Regions from separate parts of the Homo sapiens genome. Here region 1 is linked to region 2. Evidence: promoter capture Hi-C in human tissues and cell types (Jung and others, 2019). All regions are on one chromosome and are shown on one strand. Each heading gives the region's core, a stretch centred on a gene start or on the middle of the fragment in contact. The rest is flanking DNA. Distances are from core to core; before and after follow the strand shown. Region 1 holds the start of DLGAP1-AS1 (DLGAP1 antisense RNA 1). Region 2 holds the start of METTL4 (methyltransferase 4, N6-adenosine).

Region 1 (3,846 bases), core at 762-3,261, 1.0 Mb after region 2:
TACCTTATTTCAAAATATTTACAGCTTCACATTTAAGGCCACCCAAAGCGTGGCGGTCAGTGGTGAGAAGGCAGAGATCAGAGGCTGTTGGGGTGGGTCATACACCATGATTCCCGGCCCCCCTCTGGGAGATACAAGGTATCCCACAGTCTTCTCTCCCAGTTACATCCTCCACGGAAACCACAAGATGACTCGCTCAACTTTTTCTAAAGTAGAAAAAAATATGCTTGTGTGTGTGTGTAAGGGGAGGAGAGGGGATGTGAATGAAATGGAGGGTAGTGTAATAATTCCTGTAGTCATAAGACACGCCAGTTGGTAGTTGCTAGTATTCCAGACACTTCCTAACGCCAGACAAATGCCCCAAGCCTCGGCATGTCTGGCCTAGAGATCTATTCAACTGATAGCAGCCGCCTCTTCTGGGGAGAGCAGATCTTTCAGAAAGCACTGGCTGCGCTGCTAATCAAACGCAACATTGTTCTCAGCAAGGAGGAAGAATGGAAAGGTTTGTTTCAGAGTCACAACTTTATTTTTTTTAAAAGGCACCCAAGTTGTTTCAACAAGCTGCTACAAAACTTGGGCTTCCTGAGTGGAGGCTGTTTTGCACAGTGCATGTACTGTACAAAAATCCAGGCAGGGAGGGGTCAGAGAGTTCGTCATTAAAGAAAAAAAAAAAAAAAAGCCCCAGGCACTTGATGCCTGGAAATGATGTCAGACGCAGCCACTCCTCTGTTAGAACTACAGCCAAACAATGCGCAGGCAATCCACAGCAGCTGCCCCTGCAAATGTCAGCGCCAGCCCAGTCAAAAGAGCTTGAAACCTACCAAGCCGGAGGACTGTGCTGTGCCTCTCTCGCCCACATTTTCCCCAAGCACTCTCAGGAACCTGGCAACAGGTAACGTGGCAACCTTTGACTTATAAAAGGGCAAGTGGCACAATCTCAGGGAACAAATGGACTTTTTTTTAAAGCCAGCATCTCCCCCACCACTCCCACACCCCCCTCCCTCCCTCCCTCCCTCCCAACCAAAAGTCTGTAAAAAACAAAACATTGACGCGGGCAGTCCTACTCTCTAGTGTCCCCTTGTGGCCAAGCCTGGAACATCACATCTGTACGTTGCAATCTGTGGATCAGCTACGAGGTAAGTCGCTCTTTGGAAGGGGTGGAGGTCTTTGCTGGACTTGTCTTCCGAAAAGTATGAAGAGTGGAAGTCAAGGCTCAGAATGGCGTCCTTTTTTACCTTATCACCTTAACAAAAACTTCACCTTAGCTGCAGGGTTAAACCTCTGGGTTGGGGCTGGGGATTTTCGTTGTTGTTGTTTTAAAGCAGCAGCCAAGGCCATGTTTTTTAAGGTGGTGAGTTAAACGGAGCAAGAGCTGCGGTAGCCTTTTCCACCCAATCTCTTTCTTCACATCCTAGTCACAGCCAAGGGTAGGGTGGATGGCAGTGAGGATAAACAGCCCAGAAACAGGATTCCTGCAGGGTGGGACTGGCATTTTCCATTTTTATCTGAAGTTGTACTTTGAATGCAGACACCTTTCTCTCAGGCCAGAAGCACTGCTCATTTGTATTGCTGGCTTCCAGTTAGCCTATTTGCAAGGATTACTTAGGATTTCCAGACTGCAGGCCCAGCTACCCAGAGAGTGTGCCTCAAAGCCCCACCTCAAAGCTTTTATCTCTATGTGGCGGGAAACACCCACGAAAATGCCAACGGCGGTATTTGTAACTTGCCTTCTTCCTTTTGGGAACTGCTTTCTGCAGCTCTCTCTGCGTTAGAGGAATAGCTACAGCTGGGAGCTGCTCCAGCCACGCAGGAGGAGAGGGCACCCATTGAGAGGCGGGCACCCCTTCTGTCTCCCTCTGGCTATGTTAACTGGAAACTAGGAAAGGGGTTCAGATCAAAGTAACTGCTGTCTTCAGAAAGTTCCATTCATTAACTAAGTTAGCGGAAATTAAATGGTGTTTGGAGGAAGGTCATTTCAGAAGGCCCAGGGCCAGAGGCTGAGGTCTAAAACTTCTAATCTGGACTTCTATTGAAGTTTGGCAGTAAGTTAAACAGGAAGTTGAAGGCTACCATATGTAAATCCAGTTGTTGCCTGAAATCAGTCATTTCAAGGGAGTATCTTGAAAGGACACAGACTGGGAAACAGGCATGAGAAAAAAAAAAGGAAGTAGACAGACATTTGGCTAGTATGTGCCTGGACCACTTAACACTAAAGATTAGAAACCTAGGGCTCTGAGTAAGAATCATTTGACCAGTAGCTAAAGTGAGTCATGGCCTGCACAGAACTAGGGCACACATGTTGAAGTCAGGATGTTGAGAACATCAGGCTTACTAATTTGCAAGGCAGGAGTGCTGCTTCCAGTAGGGAATGTGATCAGGATTTCACGGCTCATTTTCCCAGCCTTTCCAACAGGTGCAATCAAGTCATCCGTGTACACAAGTGACTGCCCTGTTACATCTGTTAGGATTAAATTTCCATTTGTTCCATTACTTTATATGAAGTGATTTCTACTGCTGAGTCAGACAGAACACTTCCTCTTAGACCTAGGGACTTTTTTCAACATTTTTAACAATGTGTGTGTTTTTCAAAATGTGTCCCAACCAGGTCTGCAGGTCTTCCTGGGTTGAATGGACTGTTTACAGAAGGGGAAGATTCAGGCCCAAGGTCAGGGTTACAGAATTATATAAGGTTTCCTGTTTGGGCAGCTGGTCTAGCAACACCTCTGGTTGGGGCAGACTGGGTCTTGTTGAGAGATAGCATGCCCAGGAGGCTAGGGCAGGGAGAGTGCCAGGAGCAGGAAAGAACATTTTTCTTTTCTTTTTTTTTTTAAGACCGTGTCTTACTCTGTCACCCAGGCTGGGGTGCAGTGGTGCGATCTCGGCTCACTGCAACCTCCGCCTCCCAGGTTCAAACGATTCTCCTGCCTCAGCCTCTCGTGTAGCTGGAATTACAGCCGCCCGCCACCATGCTTAGCTTATTTTTATATTTTTAATAGAGACGGGGTTTCACCATGTGGGCCAGGCTGATCTTGAACTCCTGACCTTAGATGATCTGTCTGCCTCGGCCTCCCAAAGTGCTGGGATTACAGGCTTGAACCACCAAGCCCGGCCTGACATTTTTCTTTTAAATCTTTTATCAACCAGCTTTCATTTCTTGTCAGATGTCACTTTTCAGCAACCTGTTGCTATATTCTCTGTTAGGAGAACTTTTTTTTTTTTTTTCTGGCCAGACTGAGAGAAAGGAATGAAAGGATGGAAGAATTACAAGATCAGGCACTGCTGTCTGTCTGTTCCACGGATGTAACCACAGCACACGCGTGGCTCACGGTACTAGTGTGATAAATGCTTGTTACATGAAGGCGTGAACAGGGATGAGAAGAGACTTCCTGGAGAAACAAAAGGACTAACAATCAGGAAGGGGAGGTGATCGGGGCAGGAGTAAAGTGGACACCTCAGCAAAGCCATTCGCTGTGATCTCTGATTGTGCAGTGTCATGTCCTGTCACCAGAGCCCCCTCGTGTTTGATGTTGGCCAATGCCGCCAGCATGATCTAGCAGGCCAAATCCTAATCTACCATTCTCTGACACCAGCTGGTCCCCTGGGTCGTCCACCCGATGTCCCCCATTCTCCCCACTTGGCCTCCCCCACAGGCTCTCGGCAAAGGACCGTGGGAGGCACCTGTGACACTGCCCTTTTCCTGTGCAGCTGTTTTTCTTCTTCATTCTTTTCACTCCTCGTTACTCTTTTTTTTTTCACTCTCAGCCCACACAAAACTAGGAACTTTGTTATTCTACTTATTTTTCTGTACTCTGTCTGTTTGCACACAGATGGATATCTGAGAGCCAG
Region 2 (3,414 bases), core at 395-2,894:
GTAAGGTTGGAAGAACATTTATTCACTCTCCACCAGCCTAGGAAATTAATAGTGGGTCCTCAGCCCTGCCACCTTCTGCTGTTATCATCAGCCTTTTAACTCAGGTTTTGATATGGTGAAAAGAGTCACCAGGGTTATTCAGACACCCCGGCTGTCAGGGTCCTTGGTGGTTAAACCTGGGAAAAGGCCACATGAAGACAACTGTAAGCACACATGATCCCTCTGAATTGTTTTCTTTTCCTGCAATTGTGCTTGCTCTTAAAAATTGAAGTTTTAAACAGGGCTCACATGTGATCATCCTTCCATCTATTGGAGTCTAGCTTGAAATGTGACAACCGGAACCAAAAGAACCTTGAATTTGGTGCCTACTTTGGTTTTGGTGCTGCTGCTTCTCAAGATCCTCAGCAGGGATTAAGAAGTTGGGGTGCACAGCAGGAATATCAGGAAATTGGCAGGCTTGACTTCCTGGCAAATTGCTAGCAGGACCACTAAATGCTGAACTGTACTGTGAATGTATACCGAAATACAAGCAATTATTTCTGTACTAAAGGTGTTTTTAATTTTGTATTTGTGTAAAACCACCTTTGGAAGCAGCAACTATCTAGTCAGAAAAGCAAATGATGTTTCCATTAATCTTTTCTGGGGAAAACATTAGTGCTAAGGATTTAACAATCTGTAGGTAAAGTTTAACCTAACAGTATTCCACAAGGAGACTTTTTATTATCAGACGGTTGCCTAATTTTCATATAATTTTTATATTAATATAATCCTTGGTTCCTCCCCATCCCCTTCATAGGCCACAGCTGAGGTGAAAAGGGTCCTGGAATGGCTAGTGAGAGCTAGAAATTCAGACGGGAAAATTGAAACTCAGAGCAGAAAGGCAAGCTGCCCAAAAATAACAACGCTAGTTAATGGCACAATTGCTACCAGACCCAAGTATCCAGACTTCCTGGAGCTGTGAGATCTTTCATCACCACCACTCTCCAGGTACCGGGCAGTGCCTGTTTCTGGATTCAAACTCACAGCAGCGAGGAAATCCTATTTTAGCAAAGTGATCTACTGTTACTGTTGTTAGTGCACCCCTCTCCTGCGTCTCTGCTTCACATCCACTCCCTCGCCGCCCGCCCCCAAACACTTGGATTCTTCCTAGCCTCTCACAGGTCAGCCACCACCAGAGGACCGTGAGCCTCCGGCAAGTGATCAAATACTGAGCCCGAATTTCGGCAGCCGTACCAACGCAATCCTGGGAGCCCATTCCACCCACTCCGCAGCCCCTCTCCCACCTCACCTCTTCCCTTGTCAGAAAAGCGGACGCCGCCTTCCCAGACTCTCCTCATGAAAACAGCACCCATCTAAATAGTGATCATGAAAAATGCCCCTTCCAGTCCACAGAGAAAAAGCTTTCTCCTTTTCTAAGAGTCCATGGGCGCCGCCATGTTGCTGTACGGAAAAACGTTTCCAGGGCGAGTTGAGCGTTCAGGGCACTCCTCGGCGCTCAAGCTGCCCACAGGTCTTCCGACCTAACTTTAGGGGTCGTGCCAGTCTTCGTAGAGACGGCCACACTGGCCCACAGACCCCAGTTCCTGGGGTGACGCAGCTGGGCGCGACCAGCACGCAGCCTTCCAGCGACGAGGCGGTCGCATGGAAGTTACTGCGCGCGTCGTGCGTAATGACGTCAGCGCCGGCGGAGAATTTCAAATTCGAACGGCTTTGGCGGGCCGAGGAAGGACCTGGTGTTTTGATGACCGCTGTCCTGTCTAGCAGATACTTGCACGGTTTACAGAAATTCGGTCCCTGGGTCGTGTCAGGAAACTGGAAAAAAGGTGACTGAATGACATCGGATTAACTTTGTTTCTGCAGAGCTGTTCTGGAGGAAGAAAGTGATGGCGCCAATGACTTAAATTTAGAGGTCCTGAGGCGATGTTTTGGTGTTTGTTTGCTGTTGGGAGAAGCCTCGAGGCCAAAACTGTGCGAGGCGCTGGTTTCACGGGATCTATTAAATTTCTAGTGGCAACGATTTCCCAAGGAGGAAAGGGGAGGGCCTGGGGGACACTGATGAGGAGTGGAGGCTCGGGAGAGGAAACGGGGAAGAATTGAAGGGGGCGGAAAGAGATGGACAAGAGAGGACTCGTTGGGTGGGTTGCGTCTGAATACTAGTGTAGCTTCTTATGGCCGTGTAGGACTGCGTGTAGAAGTCTTCATCTTAAATCATGAGAGCTACATTCTAAGTGGAGATTAAACGTGGACACACAGGTGTGAGTGGAAAAGTTGAATAGATGAACAAGCGCATATTGAAGAGGAAATAGGCGGCCAAAATCAAGAAGAGTCTAATCAGTGTAAAAGACTAAGGAGTACCCAGAGAAGTAAAAGGATTGTCACCTTCCTGAAAGCCAGGGCAGGACCTGAGAAGGCTGGGTGCAGAGATGAGACAGGATCAAAAGTTTTGTCAATCATGTGTATCCTAGGAGACAAATTTTTTAGCAGATGTGAAGGGAGTGACCTGTTAATGTGGTTTGTAAATGGAGGCAGCCTATAGACCATTTTATGGACCGGATGATTTATCCTTGTTGAAGGGGAGATTGATGCCAAAAGGGCAGTAATTGAGGAAACAATGGGTTAAGGACAGAGCAGGAGAGATTGACATTAGGAAAACAGAATAATTCCATTCTCTGAAACCAAAGAAAAGGAAACATTTTGAGGTGAATAAGAGAATTTGAGGTAATTTTTTTGTCTTCCTATTGAAATAGGCACAGCCAACAGCAGTAATGTGGTCTGGGTAACAGACAGGGCTTTAGCTACCACGGATACCCTTGTGAAGGCAAAAACCGTAACTTACTCGTCTTTGCATCTCCTGCATTGCCTAGCACACTCCCCTATATATATAGTGGGCAGTTAATAAATGTTTATGTTGAATATTTTTAAATGGAATTAAATAGATGTTCCTTGCAAATGAGAACTTCAGTGTACATGAACAAAAAAGAGATACCCCAGGGGAAAGATGATGATCTTGAAGAAACAATGAAACCTGACTGTCTTTCTGTTTAAGGATAAATAGTTGCTTAATGTACCATCTCTGTCTGGAAAGTTTTTTTTAAATACTGAATTCGTGAATGTAGGTCATAAGCATGAAGCGCAGTTCAGTTTCCAGCGGTGGTGCTGGCCGCCTCTCCATGCAGGAGTTAAGATCCCAGGATGTAAATAAACAAGGCCTCTATACCCCTCAAACGTGAGTATTTCCCTTGTGGTTCTAATTTGCATGCTTTATCATCTTAGGCAAAGAAATCATAAGAAATAGTTAATATAAAGATGTAATATGAGTGATGTCTTGGTGAATCTTGTCTGTTCCCAGGGGTACCTAATTTTGGATCAATGAAATCTAAAAGTGGGCATGATACTCTGCTAGGTGTTGTTTGT

What was found. Contacts are between HindIII fragments. The study calls those that stand out against the background at their distance.
Region 1: a contact is called between a fragment that was not itself captured here and the fragment with the promoter of METTL4 in region 2, in 1 of the 25 tissues and cell types used here (lymphoblastoid cells).

The regions. Positions count from the first base shown.
Region 1 is chr18:3,593,349-3,597,194 of GRCh38, forward strand. The region is part of intron 7 of DLGAP1 (DLG associated protein 1); the gene reads right to left. It overlaps DLGAP1-AS1 (DLGAP1 antisense RNA 1), which reads left to right and starts at 766. Exons shown (of 3, transcript NR_024101.1): 1 at 766-892; 2 at 1,072-1,136; 3 at 3,231-3,846. RefSeq lists enhancers at 406-525, 1,938-2,908, 2,086-2,185, 2,909-3,846 and a silencer at 1,523-1,817. The HindIII fragment of the contact is 6,480 bases long and covers 1-3,846 here.
Region 2 is chr18:2,569,861-2,573,274 of GRCh38, forward strand. It overlaps METTL4 (methyltransferase 4, N6-adenosine), which reads right to left and starts at 1,645. Exons shown (of 9, transcript NM_022840.5): 1 at 1,289-1,645. NDC80 (NDC80 kinetochore complex component) reads left to right here and starts at 1,697. Exons shown (of 17, transcript NM_006101.3): 1 at 1,697-1,823; 2 at 3,117-3,226. The coding sequence starts at 3,126. RefSeq lists enhancers at 738-1,660, 1,543-1,702. The HindIII fragment of the contact is 12,565 bases long and covers 1-3,414 here.